Linked DNA regions of Homo sapiens: regions 2 and 3 are each linked to region 1. The links are contacts of gene promoters, found by promoter capture Hi-C in blood cells and fetal thymus (Javierre and others, 2016). All regions are on one chromosome and are shown on one strand. The core of a region is centred on a gene start or on the middle of the fragment in contact, and the rest is flanking DNA. Distances in the headings are between cores, read along the strand shown.

Region 1 (5,016 bases), core at 1,119-3,618:
CCACCAAGATTACGTTAATTAAACAATTATAGAAATTTAATTCACGTGGCAATTCCTCATACATAAGACCCAAAATAAGAATAACTGATTATCTTTGAGACACAATATTCCCTCAACTACTTTGAAGTTCTTATCATTATCCTTCCAAATCATGTGCCACAGGTTTGTGGCACATGTCCTGCCTGGTGTATCCAGCCAGGACTTCTAGTAGACTTAACAGGTTTTTAATTATACATATTTGTAGCTTTAAAAAAAAAATCACAAACTAGCCTATTCAACATTTTCCATATACTTTCTTTTTACATATTTATTTATTTATTTAGAGACAGGATCTCACTCTGTCGCCCAGGCTAGAGTGCAGTGGCATAATCTTGGCTCACTGCAGTCTCAACCTCACTGAGCTCAGGTGATCCTCCCACCTCAGCCGCCCCAGTAGATGGAACCACAGGCATTGTACTACTATGCCCGGCTAATTTCTGTATTTTTTGTAGGGACAGGGTTTCGCCATGTTGCCCAGGCTAGTCTCAAAACTCCTGCGCTCAAGTATCTTCCCATCTCAGTCTCCCAAAGTGTTGGGTTTACAGGCGTGAGCCACTGTGCCTAGCCTAATTTCATGTAACTTAAAATCTACTCTGCAGTAATCAAAGTCGAACAGGAATATTACATTATGTTAATGCTAAACTGTTCCAAGTTTCGTTTAAGAAATGTGAATGTAAGAAAATCTGGGAATAAATCTAAAATGGTAGATTCTAGGCTAAAAAAACTAAATTAATATTCAAATTTTCAAATAAAGACAGATTAAAAAAACTCATCAAGGGTTCACATAGGTATGGTTCAACATACATTTTTCTTTTTTTGGTAAAATTTAGATATGGTGAAACGCAAAGATAGTATCAATTCAACGAGTTTTGACAAATATATATATCTGTGTAACCAACAATCAGGATAGGAAACATTTCTATCACCTGAAGAAACTCCTATTCTTTCCAGTCAATCTCTACCATCCATAGATAATTTATTTTTTAATATCCAGCTTAATACCTTACTAACATATGCAAACTTAACTCTTTAATCACTTAAATTCCCAACTAAGAGAGCAATTAAGTTATTTATATATACAAATTTTTTTTTTCCTTTTTTACAGATGAGGGGGTCTCACCTATGTTGCCCAGGCTGGACTCTTAATAAGTCCTGGGCTCTAGCAATCCTCTTACCTCAGCCTTTTACACAAACAAAAATAGTTACTGAATTGAACTGCCATAATTTTTAGAACCACTAACATCACCAATACTTTTTAAGGAAGATTATACATTTCTATACGAAAATAACCAGCCAAAACCTTCAAAACTACCTCTATTTTCTGTTAGAAATACCTATCAGCAAAACACACCTATTTTGCGATATCGAGTCAATATTAATACATGCCGCATTAACCATATCATTGACTACAGTGAGGAAAACCCGAGTTTACAAAAACACACTCAGAAACTATTAAAATAGGTAGGTAAAAAATATTAGGTAGATACCTGTACAAATATTACAATGAATTTGGAATTGTAAGCTTTCATGCACACAAAGGGAAAAAAATTTCCTAAATTTGAAGTTTTCATTGAAAAAGTAAATGGCTCAGGGCATTACAAATAAATTTCACAGATTACGTATTCATAAATCAACCTTTGGAAGTCTAGTCCATGTCTTGTCTCTACTCCGCCCCTTACCTTCAAGCTGTCCCTCAGTGAGAATGTACTTGGAACACAACAGAGCATATTACAGCTCAATATCATGCACATACCTACGCTACTCAAAGAAAGCACTGGCAGCGTCACATGTAAGAAACCAAAAAAAAAAAAAGATAATCAATTCTGCATGGCATTTAACATTTTAATTGACAACATTTTTCGTCTTATTTAAAATCGTATAAAACCCAGAAACAGCTTGACTCCAAAGAACTATACCTTTCTAACAAGAAAAGCACATTGGGGACAGAAAGAGAGATTACCCTCCATACCAAAATTTTTCACTTTTATCCTTTACGGTTAGAAAGCCAAGCATCTATTAAGGAGAGGATGAATCCGGGCACAGCCACCACCACGGCCTCTGCCTCTAAAACACATAGGAATCCCCGGACTGTGTGGGAAGGTCTCTTTTCTTTTCTCCCTCCCCTTCAGCAACCTTACAGGATAAGTTTTAAGTCTCGAGCTACAGCACTATGAAGACTTTTCCAAGAAAAGAGATACCAGGGAAGCTGGCCGCCTGTCGCCATGAGTGGTCCGCCCCCTACCCCCACCTGCCCGCGCGGCGCCGGACTCGCGGCTCCGCCTTTCGGGGAGGTCTCCGTGGCCGCCCAGGCGCCACAGCGGGGAGCCGCGGTCGACCCCTCCGGGATGGGGGCCAGGGCAGCCTCCGCGGCTATCCCGGGAGTCCTGCTCCGACACCACCTCCACAGGGGAAGCCGCTCGGAGAGACGCAGGGACCCAGGCAAGGGATGCGGGCAAACGCGCCAAGGGTTCAGCAGAGGGGCGTGACCGCCAGTTGGCCGGGCTGAGCGAGGCGCCAGAGGGAAGCCTGCAAGGTACGTCTGCGAGAGCCGGGTGCGGGCGCGGCAGGGGAAAAGGGGGGCGCTGACTCTCTTACCGCCAGGTCCGGATTGCGGCTGTCCCTGTGTGACACGGCTCGGATGACCCCCGCTCGCCAGCTTCGCCAGCCGCGTCCGCTCTCCCAGCGCTCCGAACGTGCCTCGTCGCCGACCGCCACACACAGGAACCGCTTACCCACCAGCTCTGCCCGCGTCTCTACCGCCATAGCTGTCGCTGCCGAAGCGGCCGCTGCCTCCTCCAGTGCGAGGGAACCGATGAAACCTCACTCCTACCGGCCGCTCATGCTGAGGAGAGCGGACCGGGACACAGCAGCGGACCCGAAAGAGCGCAGACTCGGGACGAACCGGCCGCTCTGCCCCGGACACAGCGACCTCGGGCCCTCCCCGCAAACACTCCTTTGGACTCCCAGATTCGCAGCCTTGTGCTGCAGCGCCACACAAGAAAACTGAAACAAAACCCAACGCGGCCGTCGAAGACCCCGAGGCAGCCCAGCCGCCGCCACCGCGCCGCGGCCAGTACTGCTCCGTCTCCCTCCCCGGGCAGCGGCGGCGCGCAGCGCGTCTCCTTCCGCCGGCGCGGGCGGGGCAGCAGCCGCGGGAGGGTCGGCGGAACCACCGCAGACGGAAAGTAGTGCCCGGCCCTGCGGAGGCGGCAGCGGCCACTGGGTCCGTCCAGATCCAGAGGCGGCGGCGGCGGCGGCAGCGGGAGACGAAAAAATGAAGAGGGCCGCGGGAAAGTAGGCGACAGCTATTCAAAGCTTTTGGGGGTCTACCTTTGTATTCGTTGCTCCCTCAGAGGTGGAGGTGAGGGGAAAGTGAAGTGTAGTGGTTCCACTCTGATCACAAAATAAACTCCTGGGTTGACGCCTCACCCGCGGTTTGATGTTCAGAGCACACAGCGCCCGCCGCCTGAGTTAGCCTGAATTAGCAGTCCCGCAGTAACAGCAGCAGAGCAGGACAACACTTCTACTGAAAACTAAGCCCCAAAGTCACAGCAGAACCAACCGTTCATGACTTCAAGGGAAAACGAGGGGGAAAATGTGATCCTTTCATTCTTCTCATTTGTGGTGATACTAATTACATGTTTAAGCTATTCACAGATTTAAATTCGTCACTGCTTTATTATAAGAACAGCAAATGCTCCGTGGCGGGCCCTTGTCAACGTCCTGAAATTTCACAAACCGTGTCTGCGACAGTCTTAGTACTTTTAGTACTGGTACACAGCTCAAACACACTGGTCAGATAATAAAAGCAGAGAAAATCCCCAGATTCAGTTATTAGAAAATACCATGGAAAGAAAAGGATTTTAGCCAATCACAATTCAAGAAAAAAAATATTTATTTCCCATCCAATTACAATCGGACTCCCTAACCCACACAAAGATCTCTAACTTGGAACAATCACTCTTCTTTGATCAACTTATTTGTTATAAATCAAACCTCCCTACAAATGTCAGTGAGCAGTTCGATTTCAGGCACCCTTTATACTGCTTTTTTATAGGTAGTCCAATATTCTAAATTTCAGTTTCTTGAGATTTTCCTGAACCTCTATTTAAAAAAAAAAAGTTAACAGAGTTTACAGTAGTAATCTGAATGTTTAAAATAACTATAAGGCTTTTATCTGTTTTCTCTAGAACACTCAAGCTGGGCAATTTGAAGTGGAGAAACACAACCACTGCTAATAGGTTAGAAACCAAAATTATAAGGAAGATGGATTTTAATAATCATGGTCAAATTTTGCCAAAGACCAAACATAGAACTGTAATAAATAGGCTGGGCACGGTGCCTCACGCCTGTAATCCCTGCACTTTAGGAGGCAGATCACCTGAGGTCGGGAGTTCGAGACCAGCCTGGCCAACATGATGAAACTAAATGTATTTTTAGTCTCTACTAAAAATACAAAAAATTAGCTGGGCATGGTGGAGCATGCCTGTAATCCCAGCTACTCAGGAGGCAGCAGGAGAATCACTTGAACCTGGGAGCTGGAGGTTGCAGTGAGCCGGGATCGTGCCACTGCACTCCAACCTGGTCAACAAGAGCAAAACTCAGTCCCCCCGAAAACAAACAAACAAACAAAAAACCTGTAATAAATTAAAACAGCAAAACATACCCAAAAATGCATATCGGCAAGTTGAGAGAAAAAATTTTGCTTGGGCAATTTTATTTCCAAGTCCACTTTTTCAGTGTACACTGTATAATACTTAGCAAATTATCTTAAGAATTACAGATGAAGATTTCTAAAATCAGTGTAGATTAAGGAACCAGTAAAGTGACTTGGTGACAATAATTCAACATATGTAAGGATAAAAGAGTAGGGAGATCAACATCCAGATACCAAGTCATCAATGATCTGCTTTGTGACCATGGGCATGATGCAATTGTAAAAATGCAAAAATGCCTGAATCCTAATTTTCAGTGATA
Region 2 (5,016 bases), core at 1,334-3,833, 61 kb before region 1:
AAAAAGAAAAAAAAACAAAAAAAGTGGGCAGGGGATTGTTTTCAAAAGCAAACATACAAAGGGCTAAAAAATGGTCAAAATTCATGAAAAAAATGCTCAATATCACAAATCATCAGAGAAATAAAAAATTAAAACCATAATTTACATATAAAATGAGAAAGTAAGTACATTTACGAAGAATACTTGTAACATTTCGTTAAAATAAACTTTCCACTTTCCCTTTTCTTTTTAAAAATTGTTAGTCCTTTGTGTTGAGTGAATAAATGAAATTGTGACTGTGTAAATGAGCAGAAGCTTAATACCTGATGATATGTAACACTCATCTGAACAGGATGTTTTTAGGAATATCATAATGCCTTATCCCCATTCCCAAAAGCTGTGCAGTCAAGTAGCTGTTTTCTTCATGCCACTTTGGGATAGAAAAATGTGATAATAAACCAACATTTCTGCACTTTAATTCCCTATCATGTTGCACTAAAGTATAAAATAGCCTCCAGAGCCCCAGCTTTAAGCTAGGAAGAGTCCCTGTAACTACAACCATATAATAAACATACTAGAAATTAGACTTCTGTTAGATTCTCACCACTCGATTTACTTTTTAGCAGTTTAATGGGTATATTTTTAAATCTTCCTTTTTGTGTGTGGAATAACATGTTAAAAACCTCAAAAAAGATGTCAAATCATGCCCCTTATTTTAAAATTTAGCATTCCAGGGTACTAGAATAAAATCTAAACTCTTTATGCTAGTTAAGTCCCTGAAGATCTGGTTTCTGCAGACTCCTCTGACCTTGCTAACAACCACTTGTCCCTTACTCTACGGATCAGTATGGTAATCTTCTTCCTATTCCTAAAACATACCAAGCTCATTTTTCCATCACGGTAGAAGGAAAGCATGATTGAAATAATGTTTGAAACCAAAAGAAAGTTAAGGAAAAACTGAGACGGACAGACCACTCTCTGGATCTCTGCTTTTATTTTCTTAAGAGAAAGAGGTTAGTGTCAGCAAGCTGGAAATTTAAGTGTCACCAGGAAAGCCAAGGGATGCCCAAAGCTAGTATAAGTCATCCTACCACTCAAATGTACATTACTTATCCAAACTGTGTAACTTTTTAAAACTTCAGAAACAAACTTCCAAAGTACATTCCAGATAAGTACCAATTTAGTAAGACTGACAATGAATAAAGAGTACTTATAATATTTCTAAAATCTAATAAAGGTGGTACTTAAAATCACTTAAGGTCTTCACATCAGATGATCAAGTTACATAGGTAATACCATATAAGAGCTTGTGAAATGACATATTCAATGTTCTTTGGAATTAGAACCAGAGACATTGAACACAATGTCTTTGAGCCTTAGTTTTCAAGTTAGTCAAAATTAATAGTATTTCAGAGGGCTGTTTTAAGGATTAAGCATGACAACAAAAGGACTTAACAAAGTAACCAACAGACCTTAAGTGCGAACGCTGTTTAAGCATTGGTTTTCCTTTCTTTTTTCCAACTTAAAAGAATGATGTACAGGCCAGGCGCAGTGGCTCACACCTGTAATCCCACCACTTTGGGAGGCCAAGGCAGGCGGATCACAAGGTCAGGAGTTTGAGATCAACCTGGCCAATATGGTGAAACCCCATCTCTACTAAAAAATACAAAAAGGCCGGGCGTGGTGGCTCACGCCTGTAATTCCAGCACTTTGGGAAGCTGAGGCAGGAGAATCATTTGAACCTAGGAGGCGGAGGTTGCAGTGAGCCGAGATTGCGCCACTGCACTCCAGCCTGGGCGATAGAGTGAGACTCTTGTCTCAAAAAAAACAACAACAAAAAACACAAAAATTAGCCTGGTATGGTGGCACGCACCTGTAGTCCCAGCTACTCAGGAGACTGAGGCAGGAGAATCGCTGTAGCTCAGGAGGCAGAGGTTGCAGTGAGCTGAAATTGCACCACTGCACTCCAGCCTGGGCAACAGAGCAAGACTCCATCTCAAAAAAAAAAAGTGAATGATGTACTTCATAAAGACTAGAGAGACAATATTTGGACAGATATTTGTCACCATGATCAAGACTGCACTGTAATGAAACGTTAAAAAGAGTAAGGACACATAAAATGCAGTTATTTAGAGAAACAGCAAATTTGATTTTAGGAAGAACCAACAGATAAATTGGCCAGTCTCATTTCAAAACAAACGAGACCAAAAAAAGCAGAGAGAGAAAAGATATACGACACACTAATATTTTTAATCTTGGCTTTTTATATTCCAGTAGTGGAACCACATGCTAATTTTTTTTTCTTTTTAAACAGATAGGGCCTTGCTATGTTGCCCAGGCAGGCCTTAAACTCCTGAACTCCGGGGGATCCTTGTGCCTCAGCCTCCTGAGTAGCTGAATAACTATAGCTACGTGCTAGCATACCCAGTAAGTATTAAGATATATTTGAGATTTTAACATGAAGAAGTAAAAATTATCTCTTAATATGAAAAAAGAAGAAAAATGAAATTTATGATTGGAATATAGTAACACGTCTGTATAATTTATCTTTTCAAAAACAGATCTGAACAAGAAAGGTTACTGAGTAGCAGAGATGTAAAACATCTAAAATCCATAAAGCCAAGGGTGACAACATAGTAATTAGGGAAGGAGGATAAAGAGAAGCAATTATTAACTTATAAATATGTAACAAAAATTGGTCATATAAAGAATGTTTTAACATTAAATTTTAAAATGAAACAAAAGCAGTACATGGGGTGAAAAGAAATAGCAACTACCTTAACACTTGTTCTAAGTCCATTTTCTGAAGAAATTCAATCCAAAAAGTAGGAGTCTTTGCTATTTACCAGCTGCAATGTTTAAGGATCAACATGATACAATTAGTTCTTGCTCCCAAGGATAACTACAATTATATTTCAAACAGAGTGCAAGGATAAATATGTGAATAGCAATCCTTATAAAAATACTACCATCATATAACTTTTTAAATTTAAGAAGTTTATACAACACATGTATGTACATTCTCTCACTTCATTTTTAGCACCTCAATTCTCTCAATTAAATCCTATAAAGTAGGTATTAAATATGTTTTTCAGATGAGAACTCAAGACCCAAAAAGATTAAGTGATTTATCTGTTACACAGCTAATACATGGGAGAGTCAGAATTCAAACCTGAGTCTACTTTAATACCACATGTAGATTTTTTTTTTTTTTTTTTTTTTGAGATGGAGTCTTGCTCTGTTGTCCATGCTGGAGTACAGTGGCATGATCTCAGCTCACTGCAACCTCTGCCTCCAAAGCTCAAGCGATTCTCATGCCTCAGCCTCCCAAGTAGCTGGGATTACAGGTGTGCGCCACCAAGCTCAGCTAATTTTTTTGTATTTTTAATACAGACGACGTTTCACCACGTTGGCCAGGCTGGTCTCAAACTTCTGGGCTTGAGTGATCCACCCACCTCAGTCTCCCAAAGTGCGGGGATTACAGGCATGAGCCACAGCGCCCAGCCCCACATGTACATTTAAAAGGAAACAGTACTTGACAATATGGATGGGAGACAAAAAAGCAAAAGATGTATTTTTTAATTCTATAGATGTCAATAATTCTAATAAGAAAATGCAGCAGACATTTCCTGTGAAAGTAGTAACTCTAGTAGTAAAAAGTAATATCAATATTTGATTTCTCAGGGCCTGACATACATTAGGAACTTACTGTCAGTGGACTGAATAAATGAAGGGGATGAGTAAAACAATGAGGCTACATAGTTTCTGGTGTCCAATTTTTAAAGGACATATATATAACAGGAGAGAAACAAATATGCATATATACAGATTAATATCATCAATCTTATAAGAACGTTATCAGAACAAACTACATTTTATAAGTAATACAAAGGAAAACCAAACAAGCCCATTGCCTGCATAAATTCAGGAGGCTAAACTAAGAAGAAACAAGAATATTACATGGGAAAGATGGTGTAATATTAACAGATGCAGACAAAATAAACAACTACTCACACCTCCTGCTTTGTATCCATCTTCTCCACTAAGGAGAATTGAATAAAAAACTGGAAAAGGTAGAAGAAACATAGTTAAAAAGTAAATGAAGAGCAAATAAGAAGACAGAGAATATCTAGTCACTTTTAAATTTAGTTTTTTTCTGTGGAGCTTAACTAATCACAGGTCGGAATTAGGCATGTATGCATCTCCAATGTGTGGAAAACAATACTGGAAGAGAACAGTTTCTAATAAGCAATTTTGGACATGAAGAAAAACGTTTCCTAGAAAATATGTATCAAACAATCACAGAAGTTTCAAGTGTAAAAGTTTAATAATCCATCAATATGTGTCCATATCAAAGTCCAGAAGTTTTTATTTGTAAGATGGTTTAAAGGCATAAAAAAAGAAAAAAGGCTACACCAAGAGGTAATTTTATTTCCCTACAAGTGATGTTAAATTTTTATTATCAATAAATTTCTTCTTTTTAGGTAGGCTAGTATAACTAATCCAACACTAGATTTTTTTTTAAGCAAAATAGTATGGGAAAATATCCTGAAAATATTCTTAGGAATAAAATAAAAAAATAAAAACTCAATAATACAGCACAAGCAGGTACTGATAGCTGGAATAAACAACCATAACTTATAATATTAACCAAGAACTAAAGTAAAATTGATAAAATGTCTTCAAATATATTCCACAGGGCTCTATCATTACACTTCAGTCAAGACACTTACAAAAGTCAAATTGTGAAATGAATGTAGGACTCAAAGAATAATAATTAACATGCTGGATGATGAGGATTGTAAGGTTTCAACAGATTGAAAAGATGGGTAAAATAAACTAATTTTAAAATAACAGCAAAACCAGTGGTAGCTAACTTAGTGGAAAAAAAAAGAAGCTTAATCTAAAGCCAAATATTAGGGAAAGCTGATTAATATGCTAAATTACCAAAGATAAGCTATGCCCCAAAGGTTCAAAAATTGAGTAGGGGTAAAGTAGGGCTAACAGGAAGACTGACCATAGTCTACTGAAGCAGCA
Region 3 (5,016 bases), core at 1,551-4,050, 52 kb after region 1:
ATGGAATTAACCTAGGTGCCCATCAACAGGATTGGATAAAGAAAATGTAGTACACACACACACCATGGAATACTATGCAGACATAACAAAGAATGAAATCATGTCCTTTTGCAGCAACATGGATGGAGTTGGAGGTCATTATCCTAAGCAAATTAAGGTAGGAACAGAAAACCAAATACTGCATGCCCTAACTTATAAGTGGGAGCTAAACACTGGGTACTCACTGACATAATGATGGCAACAATAGACACTGGAGACTACTAGAGGAGGGAGGGAGGGGGTGGAAGGGATGAAAAACTGTGGGATACTAAGGTCAGTACCTGGGTGACGGGACCATTCAGACCCCAAACCTCAGCATCATGCAACATACCTAGGTAACAGACCACACACATGTACCCCAGAATCTAAAATAAAAGCTTAAAAAAAAAGTAAAAATACGTAAAAAAATTTCTGGTCTGATATTTCCAACATTCCTGCCATATTTAGCTATGGTTCTGATGTTTGGTTTGGTCTCCTCAAACTACAGTTTTTGCCTTTTAGTATGCCTGTAATTTTTTGTTAAAGGTGGACATAATAATACTAAGTATTTTTTTTTTTAAAGCCTACAGTAAACAGGTGTTTTGTAATGCAGTACTAGGGTGATGGGGGAGGAGAAGCATTCTATAGGCCTAGGATTAGGTCTCAGTCCTCTGGTGAGCCCGTGCCTCTAGACTGTGACCTTCCACCAGCATTTCTCAGGTTTTTTCCTCCCTTCAAATGGAACAGGGTGGCTGGAGAGGGCTGAAGTTATTTCCCTTCCCACAACTGGAAGTCTAGAGGGAGGTGGAGTTAGGAATTTCCTTTTCTCCATGTGGAGGGCTAGAGTTGACTGGAGCTGCATTTTTCCCATTCCCCAGTTAGGTTTGGTTCTAAGAGAAATAATTTCTCCTGAGGGCAGGCCTTGTTAAGAACAGAATACCTTGGTGTATTTCAAAATGTTTCACTTCTCCCTTCTCCAGCTGACAGCGTAAGAGGATTTTTCTCAAATATTTACTGTGAGGACCTGGTAGAGCTCCAGGAAGTAAATCTCACAAAACTACGGGGGCTTCCTTAGGACTGGCTCTCCCTGGAGCTTTTAGGTCTCAGACTTGTCCACACTGAGCCTCCAGCAACTCCTCAATTACAGCTCAGATTTTCCTACCCGGGTACTGGTTCCCTCAGGGGTTTCTGATCCTCGGTTTCTGCTTCAGTAGTTGTGATTCTCTGTATCCAGCTGTCTGTCTCTCCAGTTTTGGAGGATGTGGTTTGCCCTGTGACTTCACTTATCTGAGGAATCTAAGAAGTGTTGTCTATTCTTCATTTTGTTCAGTTATTTATTTGTTGTCAGGACCAAGTGGCAATTACTGAGCTCCTTACATGCTACACTGGAAATTGGAAGTCTTCAGAGATTACTTCTTAATAGTTTTTAAGAGTGCTTTGTATATGAAGATATATACCCAAAAATCAGACAAAAAACCCTCTGTCAGGTTTTACAAATTTTTTCCTAGTTTGTCATCTGTCTTTTAATCTTGTTTATATTGGTTTTGGAGGCACAGGAGTTTCAATTCTTGTATACTCAAATCTATGATTATGGTTTCTGATTTTACGACAGAAAGGTCCTCCTGCTATCAAGAATATAATACCTTTATCTATTTTTTTGTACTTTTATGGTACTTTCAGTTTTTCCATTTCCTACCTATCAGAATTTTTTTTCTTCAGTTTTTATTAAATGGCTGGCTGGTTGTCACATCGTTTACTGAATAATTCCATCGTGTTCCAAAAACCATAAAATGCTGTCTTTATCTTAGACTAAATATCTATTAATAATTGGGTATGTTTCTGGACTTTGAGGGAAAAAAAAAAAAAAACCTGGGAACAGAGACTGCCTGTGAAATGAACTGAGTAGCTGGAAACAGGGAAGAAAAAAAGACTAATTTTTCACTGTTCCCTTTTAAATTTATTCCACGTGCTTTGAATTATCACTCAAGACATCAACAGAAATCTGTTGAAATTCTGCTTACTAGACATGATGTCATTATCAAATATTTCAGATTTGGCAAATTATACCACAACCCCATATGCACCTGAATACCTGAAATCATAAGTCTATCTTGAGCTTAAAACCCTGATTTAATCTATTCTATTTTAAATAAATAGTAAAAGTACCTCAATTATCTTAAACTAGATGTTTCTCTGCCACTTAACATGGTCAAACACAAAACCATATTTTACCATGAAGGAAAAACAAAAGCTTCTGTCTAAATCCTTAATTGTTATAGTTAAGGCTACTACTGGAAATGTGTAAGAATCTCAGATAATGTCAATTTCTTACTGTGTGTGCTTCCCAGATCCAGCCATCACAGATGTATTTTACTTTTTGTGTTGTCAGCTAGTCACCATCTTTTTCTACCAATACCTATAGTGAATACTTAATCAGAACCTAATCTTTTTATTCTATTGCTATCTGATCATTGTATTTTCAGTATCATTTCATTATCATTCAATCTCTGAAGCCAAACTGAACCTCTGTTGTAACCATAATTCCATAAGCGACTGCCTGAGAGAAAAGAGGTATCCATCTAGCAGCAGACAGAAAAAGAACAGCTTTCTTCTGTTATGTCAGTCTTCTTAAGATCCTCTCTCTCCCCCTATTTTCTAAACAACTATGAAAGACAGACTCATTTAGTAATTTTAGCCTTTCTCCAAATAAATATATTTTTTAGCCACTGAAAATGCTCTCTTAATAGAAATGCGAAGGTGACCTAGTATTCAGTCTCATTAGCATTCTCATTAATAATTACAGCGATCAGACATTATCTTTGTACCCTCTAATTCTGCTCTCACTACCTGCTCTCCTAGGTACTTTCTTAGTCTCTGTTGCTCTGCTAATAAATGAACTCTTTTAACATGCAGAAGATGCACATTCCACATATCTCCTAGGAAAACTAATATTTAAAAGAGAAACCAATGCTTTTAACAGTCTAATTACCCTTAGATTTTAAAGCCTCTTATTTTTGATCTTCATAACAGTATCATCCCCATATTCAACAGGAAACATACAGTGTGATTTACCAAACATCCTATTACCGGTAGTAGAACTAGGTCTCCTGTGAGAATGTCCTTTGCCCTAAATACATTGCCTTCCTCAGAGAAGAAAAGTGTCTTTGCAGAACACAATGAAGGATGCGCTTTATATAGCACAATGTATGAATATTAGTGATATATGTATAAAATCAAAATTAAGTTCAGTACTTAAAGAAATCATATCTTCTATATAAGAAATGATTTCAAGCACTCCAAGAGACCACACTATAAAAGCTTCTAGGCAGAAGGTACTATATTTCCTTTTCTCCCAGTGCCCCTAGCACCTTATCTTATACAGTGAAGTACTTATCTAATGGCCACTTTTTTTTTTTTTTTTTTTTTTTTGAGACAGAGTCTCACTCTGTCACCCAAGCTGGAGTGCAGTGGTGCAATCTCAGCTCAGTGCAACCTCCGCCTCCCAGGTTCAGGTGATTCTCCTGCCTCAGCCTGCCAAGTAGCTGGGATTACAGGTGTGCACCATCATGCCCAGCTAATTTTTGTATTTTTAGTAGAGATGAGGTCTTGCCACATTGGCCAGGATGGCCTCGAACTCTTGGCCTCAAGTGATCTGCCCTTGTCGGCCTCCCAAAGTGCTGGGATTACAGGCATGAGCCACCGCACCCAGCATAATGGCCACTTATTTCTTAGCAAATCTCAACTATCTGCTAATAAATTTGGCAGATTTCTGTGTATCTGAGACACAGTCCAATACACAGAAATTATAAACACCCTCCACTAAAATCTGGGCACTTTTCATGAGAGACTCTTCTCAGATGAAGTTACTCTTACTTTAGATCAACAGTTCTCAACCACATCAGATTCAATGTGCCCCTTGCATAAAATATTTTCCAACTTCTGCTTTACCACCCTGAAACAAAATAACAATATTCCTACAATTTCAAACAAATCCATATACCCTAAATAAGAGTGGAAAAGAGACATGAAAATGATTTATAATAACATATATTTCGACGTGGGGCAAAACTACACTAGAAGACTTAAAGAAGTAACTAGTAGCTGAATATATCTATGAATGCAGAGCTGTTTGTGATACAATTTTCCAAAACTGTAAACAATTCTTGGTCAAGTTGTGAACAAAACAATCTTCCTTCAATTCACATAACCGTTGCATGTGGAAACAGACTCAGTTAAAATTCAGTCTCAGTTAAAATCATGATGCAAGATGGAGGTTCCAGGCTTTGATAATTACAAATACTACATGAAAGTCAGGCAGATATTCTTAAATCATGCAAGACATGGGGACACTTTGTTCAGGACTGTCCCACACCTCTCTAGCCTTCACTCAACAAATGCAAGTTGTTAGCTCCAATCATTACAACAATCTAAAAAATGCCTTCCAGTTTCCCCTTGGAGGGCAACACCAAGCTGGACCCACCGCCTTAAACACAGTTCCGCTATCTATCCCAGTATAATGTAAACAAGCTTGGGAAGCATGAATTAGATCTCCAGTTCTGTTACCAATGACCTATGTGATCACCCGCCAGTTGAGTTAACTTCTCTAAACCTCACTTTCCATGGTACCAAAAGGGAATAAACGCTATATGGCTTTTTAAGTTGTCAGAATGACTCAATGACACGTGTATAGCACATAGTAGGTGGTTTCCAACCCATGGCCTATTGAGATGTGAAAAAAGGCACTGTTCCAGGTAAATAGAAAGAAAGCAGCAAAAAGTAATCTAAATGTGGAAGAGGCAGAAGATATAATAAGCATACAAAATGAAACTTAACGCACAGCAGTCTAGGGACATTTCAGAGAGCAGCCAGCCATCCTACCTAGGTTGCCTTCAGCAACCCCTGAAGGCATTAATGTACTAGGATTAGCTGAAATAATTAATATTCACAATGATGACCTCCAAAGTAAAAAGGCAAGAAAGACATTTTTAAGAGACTTCC

The links. The method cuts DNA at HindIII sites, captures the fragments that hold promoters and counts their contacts. A CHiCAGO score of 5 or more calls a contact.
Region 2: a contact is called between a fragment that was not itself captured here and the fragment with the promoter of JMJD1C-AS1 in region 1, in 3 of 17 cell types (M2 macrophages, endothelial precursors and erythroblasts). The highest score is 7.3, in M2 macrophages.
Region 3: a fragment that was not itself captured here is called in contact with the fragment with the promoter of JMJD1C-AS1 in region 1 in 1 of 17 cell types (M2 macrophages); the score reaches 5.6 in M2 macrophages.

The regions. Positions count from the first base shown.
Region 1 is chr10:63,462,861-63,467,876 of GRCh38, forward strand. It overlaps JMJD1C-AS1 (JMJD1C antisense RNA 1), which reads left to right and starts at 2,369. Exons shown (of 1, transcript NR_027182.1): 1 at 2,369-3,703. It overlaps JMJD1C (jumonji domain containing 1C), which reads right to left and starts at 3,117. Exons shown (of 26, transcript NM_032776.3): 1 at 2,635-3,117. The coding sequence starts at 2,802. RefSeq lists silencers at 2,230-2,569, 3,110-3,259 and enhancers at 2,349-3,138, 2,760-2,829, 2,910-3,079, 3,530-3,579. The HindIII fragment of the contact is 1,793 bases long and covers 1,560-3,352 here.
Region 2 is chr10:63,402,138-63,407,153 of GRCh38, forward strand. The region is part of intron 1 of JMJD1C (jumonji domain containing 1C); the gene reads right to left. Among named protein-coding and RNA genes, the nearest start is that of JMJD1C-AS2, 26 kb to the right of the region's middle. The HindIII fragment of the contact is 4,582 bases long and covers 293-4,874 here.
Region 3 is chr10:63,514,364-63,519,379 of GRCh38, forward strand. It overlaps a transcript of JMJD1C not described here. Among named protein-coding and RNA genes, the nearest start is that of REEP3, 4.5 kb to the right of the region's middle. The HindIII fragment of the contact is 1,067 bases long and covers 2,268-3,334 here.